Regions from separate parts of the Homo sapiens genome. Here region 2 is linked to region 1. The links are contacts of gene promoters, found by promoter capture Hi-C in human tissues and cell types (Jung and others, 2019). All regions are on one chromosome and are shown on one strand. The core of a region is centred on a gene start or on the middle of the fragment in contact, and the rest is flanking DNA. Distances in the headings are between cores, read along the strand shown.

Region 1 (4,382 bases), core at 1,387-3,886:
AAACCTATTAGTTGTATAACATTAAATGTGAATTTAGAAATGGGCACCAGATACTTAAGACCTTTATGTGCCAGGGAATGCACTAGATGATTCACATGAGTAAAAATAATTTTCAGAGTCCTAGGACAAGTCTCCTCTTCATCCCCAAAGAACTCAGCCACTATCACGGGGCAGAACCCATAAACAAGTCAGAAACTCGTTTTTTCAATCTTAGGAAAAAATATAGCTCTAGATCCCTTCTACTTGAACCTCCATACAAAATAATAACTGTTTCCAAAATATTCCTTAGCAAGATATACAAGTATTTTACCAACTGGGCTTTCCCCCCTAAACTATCACAACTACTGCCCACTTCCCTATCCCATCTTCCTGCCTCCAACAGTGTAATTTGATTCCTCTGCACATGCTTTTCTTCTCTTCGAGCAAGCTCTTCCATCTTTCCTGTGGAAGAATTACCATCATTCTTCAAGGCCAGTCAAAAGTGCGGTGGTGATAAGCCTTTCACGGAGGCTAGCTCACGCATGGATACTTCACAGCAACTGAACTTGGCCCCTTTATAGCACTAACCGTTAGGTATTAACTACCTGTTCACCTGTCAATTTCCATCAGGTAGGCACAGTTCTTATTGACCTCTACGTACTCCCTCCCTAACACACGGATTATACCTGGCATATACTAACTGCTGGATAATTGGTTGCCAACAGCAACCTCTCACCCTAAGGAAAACCCCACAACACTGTTAGTTTCTAAACATCTGCTGAGAAAACGTTAACACAGGACTTGAAAGTGTATCAGAAAAACATAAACCAAGAGATGAGTGGACTGGGTCAAGCCTGACACAAAGTAACATAGAAAGGCGAAGGCAAAAACAAAGGGAAAAAAAACCCCCAAAACTGTACTATATTCCCAAGGGAGGGAGATTTCACAAAATGAGCAGTGGATAAGATTAGTAATATGAACAGCAAGTTGTGCAGCCTCCGGAAAGAATGCGCAAGGGTATCAATCTTCTAAGAGTGAGGTTCCAGGCACCGAATGGACTGGTCTTACAGCCCGGACAAGAAACGGAGACCGCTTGGTTGGGCTCCAAGACGGAGGTGTGCGGTCCTGCCACTGCGAACGGGGCGGGGAAGAGAGGAAATGACGAGCCAAAAGGGGTGGTAACGGCGCCGGGCCGGAGACCCGGGCGGAGCGGGCTGGGAGGAGGGGCGCGGCGGAGCAGGGGGAGTGGGCGAACTAACGGCCCCCTCTCCCCACCAGGGAGACAGCGGGGGCGGGCCCATAGGGCTCCGAGGCGTGGGCGGGCCAGCCCCGTTGCCAGCCGCACACGGGACCCCGCGGCCGCGGCGCGCACCCTCCCCAGGCCTCCCTCCCGACCTAGAGGGGCTGCAGATAAGACAGACCCGGCTCGCTGGGAGCGGGGAGCGGGGGGCGCGGGCCCCGGGGAGGCTTCCTGTCCCAAGGGCCGGAGAGTGGAGAGTGCAAGGGCAGGTTTAAGTTTGCGGCCAGAACGACCAGGAGGAAATCGCCGAGGCCCAGGGCGCGCATGTGTCCCCTAGTGTAGGGCCATTCGTGGCCCCAGGCCTGGGGCCTGAGAACCTGGGCCTGAGTCGGGGAACAGGGACGCATTCCCAACTGGCCCTGGCACCCTGCGAGGGTCGGAGCCCCGAGGTGCCTGCTCCCCGAGGCGCCATCCCCGCGCGGGGCGGCCCCTGCAGGCCTCGGCCGGGAGTGCCCCGAGGCGCTCGCAGGCCCCGGGCCGGGGCCGCTGGCCGCCCGGCTCGGCTAGGCTCAGCTCGACTCCCCGGGCTCGACGGGCGCCTGGGCCTCTCCTGAGTGGTCAGCGAGACCCGCCAATCGGGGCGCTGGGGCCGGCTCTGGGCCGCTGGATATTGGCTCCTCACACTCACCGTGCCTCGCTCCCCCGGTTCGCTGCCCGCGCTGATTGGCTCCAGTACCGGACTCCGAAACCCAATCAGAGGCTCCAGCCGCCGCTGCCGCCGCCACTGCCGCTGCCTAGCAAAATGGCGAACCCGAACAAAGGGGAATCGGGCCTCCCTCCAACCGCCTCCGCGCAGGCGCCTCTGAGGCCACGCCCACTAACTCCAGTTCAGGGATCGCCCCACCCCTTCGGAGGAGCAACGCGCAGGCGTTCCCTGAAGCCACGCCCACCTTCCCGCTTTGACACCACCCCCAGTGAAAGGAATACGCAGGCGCTTTCCAGACGCGCCAGACCCTTCAACTCAAAACGCTGCCTTGAGCTTAGTACTACGCAGGCGCTAACTAGCCCCTTTGCCAGCTGCCCACCCCTTTCCAAGTGGCCACTAGGACACACCCCTGCGGCTAATGCGCAAGCGCCACTTTTCCCGACTCGTGGGGCAGTTTCGTTACGCATGCGCGGGCGGCGGCGGGAAACCACGGAATTTACTGCCGGAAGTTCGGCGGCCTTCGCCAAAGAGTGTGGGCTCGGCTAGCAAGCTAGAGGGGCTCGTTTCCGCCCCGCTACCGGGCGGGGGCGGCCATCTTAGATGCGTGCAATTAAGGGCTTTGGCGGGATTGGCTCCGCGTTTGGGCTGGTCCGCTGCTCCCCACCTACCAGGGTCGGATCCGGAGCCCTTCCCCGCGGGGCGGGGACCTCCAAACAACCGACTCCTTTCCAGGTGAAGGGTGACTTGGGTACGTTGGGGCTTTGAGCGAGCCTCCCCGCACCCTCCCATAGGACCCCAGGACAGACTGCGTCCTCGCTGACCCGCCCTAGGGTAGGAGACAGAGAATGGGAGGCTTCAATAGACTCTTTCCTTCTCCCACGCACCCCCCAAAAAAGTGGGGGGTGAACGTTCCTTGAGAGGCCGCCTTCCTTTCCCCACGCCTGGGGCTCAGCACGCCAGTACCCTGTACACTCTGTGGTTGCGGCTTAACGGGACTGTGGCCAAGTCCCTTCTGTTTTCTTCTAAGCCAGACCCACTGGGGAAATACTTTTGCGTCGTGCAGAGAAAAGGAGACCGTCCTAAATCGGCCTTGCTCCGGAGTGGCCCTGGAGAAAGGAGGAGGCGTGTCTTAGGGATGGGCTTTGCTTCCGCTGACGGAGCGGGGCGCTCCAGGAAAGCACGAAATGAGAGCGGGTCGAGACAGCCTCCGAACCTAAGCGTTCTTCCTCTTTGCCCCAGAAGGGTTTTGTATTACGTCCCAGGGGCCGAACAAACTCACATTCATCGATAAACGTTGGGGAAAAAAGCCTATTAAGTGGTTGTACAGGGCAATCAGAATATTATATACTAAGGCTGCCTAAGCATTTTTACTTCCTTTTCCCTTCTCATAGCTGAAGAAACACTTAAATTCTGGAAATAGCGACTCAGTATCATGGCCAGCAGCCTTAATGAAGATCCAGAAGGAAGCAGAGTGCGTAACAACTATTGACTTATTGGTGAACTGAAATTCGTAATAATGGAGGTCAAAAGCATAAACACTTTTTAATTAAATTAATGATTGCATTATCTTTTTTTCTCTCTAGCTGATTTACTTTAAAAAGGCTCAAAATTCTAGGCAGGGATCATCCATTACTTTCCTTTTACACATGCTGTAATTGGTTTGGCTTTAAATCAGATTGGAGGAAGGGGTGCCGGGAGAGGTAGTCGTGGGGGACACAAAATACAGAAAAATAGCTTAGTATTTTACTGTATCTAATAAAACATTGTCTTTTCCTTTGCACATTTTTTAGATCACTTATGTGAAAGGAGACCTTTTTGCATGCCCGAAAACAGACTCTTTAGCCCACTGTATCAGTGAGGATTGTCGCATGGGCGCTGGGATAGCTGTCCTCTTTAAGAAGAAATTTGGAGGGGTGCAAGAACTTTTAAATCAACGTGAGTTTTGGAAACCACTTACCTGGTTTGCCCTGGCTAGAGCACCTTTTAATCTGTTACACTTTAATAAAATATGCGTGTAAAGAGGGGATTCCTAAGAACCAAATGTTTTTAAGATTTTCCTCCCCAAGAATGGCCTCTAGTTTAGACGTTTACCATATCAAAACCCAACTCCTGTGAAGGTTTTTAATCTCTTCCTCTTGTATCATGAAACTTTCTTGACGATATTACTGTACTTCTCTGAAACTTGAAATAACTCTGAGATGCTTAGTCTATAGGTTGGCATTCAAGATCCTTTACTTACCAATATTCTGCTTTCTCTTCAAAGAGGAATTTAGAAACCTCTTCTTCCTTACAGACCCCTCCCATCACTTTCTACGGGCCACTTTAAACCAGAAATGTGCACTAGAATCCTATGTAAAGCTTCTGCAACAGTTTCTCCGACCACATTCCAGGCTTAACAGCATCAGTGTCCACAGTGATTCTTAGCCTTAGACAAAAGCAATTCTTACTGCTTTGTAT
Region 2 (4,382 bases), core at 987-3,486, 1.6 Mb after region 1:
CAGTTGTCATTTAATTGGTTAGTAATCTGGAAGCCACCTATTAAAGGAAGAGCTTCTATGCCAGGGATGATTGACTGGCAGAGGCTGCTGAAAAACTGTGCTGAGAACTCTAATGCTATGATTAGTTTCCCAGGAAAGATGCTGAGATTGATCAGCGATGTCTTCTAGGGGTATGAAGAGTGAAAGCGGTAACATAGGGTCTGCATATTCAACATCCTTGTCTTTCATGCACCTTTCAAAAACTCCTCCTTCCTAAATCACAAGCATCCTTGTGGGAGGAAGGTAAAGACACTATCTCCACTGTTCCATCTAATCTTTCTTGGAGATGGCTCATTTCTCTTATAAGATCTGTTATAGCCCCCAACCCCATTCCATGCATGTATTCAGTCCAGTGTCAGTGCATCCTTGGCTCTCCATCGTCAAAGCTGCTGGCTTGTCCTGCACCTGGGTTTCTGGCTGAAGCCACCATTTCCTCTCTATGCCCCTGGAGACATCCAGCACCACTCCCAAGAGTGTGGGCTCACTGACCTTCCCCCTGACCTTCCTATCCCTCTTGACCTTTATATTTCATGCTACAGCTCGATAGATTATCCCTTCCTCAGCTCTGCCTTGTCTCTCTTCTAAATCCTTATTTCCTTTTCCTCCCATCAACCCGTTCATTCTACCTTCTCCACACACTCAGGGACCTCAGTTCTCTCCAACTAAAGAAGAGAGGGGAGAGAAGACCAACAGGGGACGATGAACAGTGAGGGGGTGCTGGATTCCAAGGAGACAGGGGTTTGGAACACACTGAAATGGAATTCTCTTCTAATTATTTAGGTGACGATATTTTTGTCTATTTCACCCAAGTCAACACTTACCAAGAAATTTCACTTCAGATAGAAGGTTATTTCAGGCACCATACAAAAAACACACTTGATCTCTGCCCATTGCTTCTCATTCTTGTATGCACCTCCAGATTCTACACGTTGTAGGTATTCATCATACTGTGGTATCAGAGCTGTTCCCTTACCTTCAATTTAAAGAGCTTCCACTATTGAGCCACAGAGTATAATCATCCTTCAATACGATTCCCACCGTGAATCATCAGCTTCCTTCCTGCCTTAGCACCACATGCTCCCCACCCAGCTCTGAGCCTTCTCATGCTTTCAGTCCCAAACAGTGTGTTCCAAACCCCCATCTCCTTGGAATCCACCCCCCTTCTCACTGTTCATCGTCCCCTGCTGGTCTTCTTCTCATCCCTCTCTTCTTTAGTCAGAGGGAACCGAGGCCCCACGCGAGTGAATATCTCCCAAGGAAAATATATTTTTGGCTCCGACTAGGAAATCATTTTTCAGCATGAATAACACAACTCTCTCCATCATTGTACTTTTGTCAATTTTTAAGCAATAGCTTAAGCAGCAGTAGGTTGTTTAGGAGCAGCCAGGAAAATAAGCTCTGGCCCATGTACCCCAGACTAAAGGAAATCAGACCGCAGGCCCAAAGGCAATAGCATAAACTCTCCACTTCCGATGTTTTTCCTTTCCATTTGGTTTCCATGGGACCCTGTGTTGGGGATGGGGAGGGCTTCCCAAAGTACCAAGTTGTATTCGTTAGCAAAATAAGGAACTGAATTTCAGGTTGAAAAAAAAAGAAAGCATTAAGAAGTGGGTAAGGGACCAGCGCACAAGAATTTGGATGCCTAATGTTTCAGAAACCCAACCCTGAGGCTGATGTTGAAAGCCCCTTGTTGACTACCATTTCTACCTATGTGCTCTTTGACCACTATCAAAGTTCAGAAGAGATTACACCTTTGGGACTTGCAAATATTTTCCATCCAACTTACAACCGAAATTGCAATGTCGTCTTTTGGAGAATGAGACTCAGAAATTCCTCTCTTTTAGGTTTTAAATGGTTCTGTAACTCAGCAAGCCAGCAGGCTTCTCTTAATCATTCATATTTCAGGGATCCAGCGCTGGGAACCTGTGATTAAAATTCACTAAAAGCAAACAACTAAGAAATGAGCTCTAGAAATGAGCATGGCAAGTTCCCAAGGTCCTCAGCTCTGTTGAGGAGCTGAGTCTGACAGACTAAACAAAGTTGGGAAGAAGATAAAATGTATGTCTTTGCAGTACCTCTTAGCTAATTGTCAATAAATTGTGGAATTTTTCTTTGCTAGCACTGAAATAATGATACCTTCAAGAGTATAGTCTTGTGTCACTTAACAACTGAGATACATTTTGAGAAATGCGTCATAAGGTGACTTCATCATTTTGTGAACATCATAGTGTGTACTTAAAGAAACCTAGATAGTATAGACTACTACACACCTAGGCTAGATGGGATAAACTAATGCTCCTCAGCTACAAACCTGTACAGCATGTTACTGTACTGAATACTGTAGGCAATTGTAACACAATGGTAAGCATTTGTGTGTCTATACATAGAAATAGTACAGTAACAATGCAGTATAAAAATAAAAACACCTGTACAGGGCAGTTACCATGAATGGAACTTGAAGGACGGAGTTGGTTTGGGTGAGCCAGTGAGTGGTGAGTGAGTGTGAAGGCCTAGAACATTACTGTACACTATGTGTATTTTATAAACACTGTACACTTAAGCTACACTAAATTCATTTTTACTAATATTTCAATAATAAATTAACCTTAGCTTACTGTAACTTTTTATCTTATAAGCCTAATTTTTTTAACTTTTTAATTCTGTAATAACACTTAGCTTAAAACACACATTATACAGCTGTACAAAAATATTTTTTTCTTTATATCTTTATTCTATCAGCTTTTCCCTATTTTAAAAATTTTTCATTTTTTTTAAGCTTTTAGACTTTTTTGTTAAAAATGAAGACACAGTGTCAGGACCTTCAGTGTCACTGTCTTCCACCTCCACACCTTGTCCCACTGGAAGGTCTTCAGGGGCAGTAACACACATGGAGCTCTCATCTCCTATGATAACAATGCCTTCTTCTGGAATACTTCCTGAAGGACCTGCCCAAGGCTTTTTTACAGTTAACTTATAAGTAGAAGAAGTACACTCTAAAATAATGATAAAAAGTATAGTATAGGCCAGGCGCAGTGGCTCACACCTGTAATCCCAGTACTTTGGGAGGCTGAGGCAGGTGGATCACCTGAGGTCAGGAGTTCGAGACCAGCCTGGTCAACATGGTGAAATCTCATCTCTACTAAAAATACAAAAAGTTAGCCGAGCGTGGTGGCGGACAAATCCCTGTTACTCGGGTGGCTGAGACAGGAGAATCGCTTGAACCCAGGAGGCAGAAGTTGCAGTGAGCCAAGATCAGGCCACTGCACTCCTGCCTGGGCAACAAGAGTGACACTCTGTCTCAAAAATAAATAAATAATTAAATAAATAAATAAAGTATAGTAAATACATAAATCAGTAAAATAGTCATTTATTATCAAGTATTATGTACCGTATATAATTATATACGCAATATTTTTATACAACTGGCATCACAGTAGGTTTATTTACACCAGCATCACCACAAACATGTGACAAATGTGTTGCACTATGACATTATGACAACTATGACACCATATGGGACCACCGTCGTACATGCAGTTCACCATTGATTGAAACGTCTTTATGTGGGGCAGGACTGTAGTTGCATTTTTATAAAAGCTTCTTGGAGTTGGAATTCATCTCTAATGGTGGGCCAGTAAGCATGGTGACATGTACTGGGGAGAAGATGGTGCTGAATTTCTAAAATCATACTATGTAGGAGATGAAACTGTCCAGTAGCATGGTGGCAGAGAGAGAGAGAGCAATGGATACATGCCTCATTTTTCACACCATCACAATATGCTATCCAGAAGGAAAGACGTTAAGCATCTAAAGCACTTTTTCATTCATTCATTCATTCAAAAGATATTTTGTGTGCCAAATATGCTATAGTGCTCTTGTATGCCAAGTACTATCTGGATTCTAGAAATATTGCTGCAAACAAAACTGACAAAAATCCTTGCTTTTATCCAAATTGGAAAAGAGAAAGTCAAACTATCACTGTTTGCCAATGATATGATCTTATACCTAGAAAATCCTAAAGACTTCTCTGAAAGATTGCTAGATTTGATAAATGAATTCAGTAAAGCCTCAGTTTACAAAATAAATGTAGACAAATCAGTAGTTCTGCTTACATCAACAAGGACCAAGCTGAGACTCAAATGAAGAACTCAATCCCTTTTACAATAGCCACAAAAAATATATAAAATACCTAGAAATATATGTAACAAATGAGGTGAAAAATCTCTACAAGGAGAACTACAAAATACTGATGAAAAAAAACATAGATGACACAAACAAATGGAAAAACATCCCATGCTCATGAATCAGAAGAATTAATGTTGTGAAAATGACAATACTGCCTA

What was found. Contacts are between HindIII fragments. The study calls those that stand out against the background at their distance.
Region 2: a contact is called between a fragment that was not itself captured here and the fragment with the promoter of OARD1 in region 1, in 1 of the 25 tissues and cell types used here (dorsolateral prefrontal cortex).

The regions. Positions count from the first base shown.
Region 1 is chr6:41,070,610-41,074,991 of GRCh38, reverse strand. OARD1 (O-acyl-ADP-ribose deacylase 1) reads left to right here and starts at 2,636. Exons shown (of 6, transcript NM_001329686.2): 1 at 2,636-2,756; 2 at 3,317-3,396; 3 at 3,716-3,860. The coding sequence starts at 3,358. NFYA (nuclear transcription factor Y subunit alpha) reads right to left here and starts at 2,018. Exons shown (of 10, transcript NM_002505.5): 1 at 1,908-2,018. RefSeq lists silencers at 1,128-1,287, 1,318-1,947 and enhancers at 2,328-2,377, 2,408-2,617. The HindIII fragment of the contact is 6,789 bases long and covers 1-4,382 here.
Region 2 is chr6:39,436,952-39,441,333 of GRCh38, reverse strand. The region is part of intron 13 of KIF6 (kinesin family member 6); the gene reads left to right. Among named protein-coding and RNA genes, the nearest start is that of KCNK16, 120 kb to the right of the region's middle. The HindIII fragment of the contact is 7,618 bases long and covers 1-4,382 here.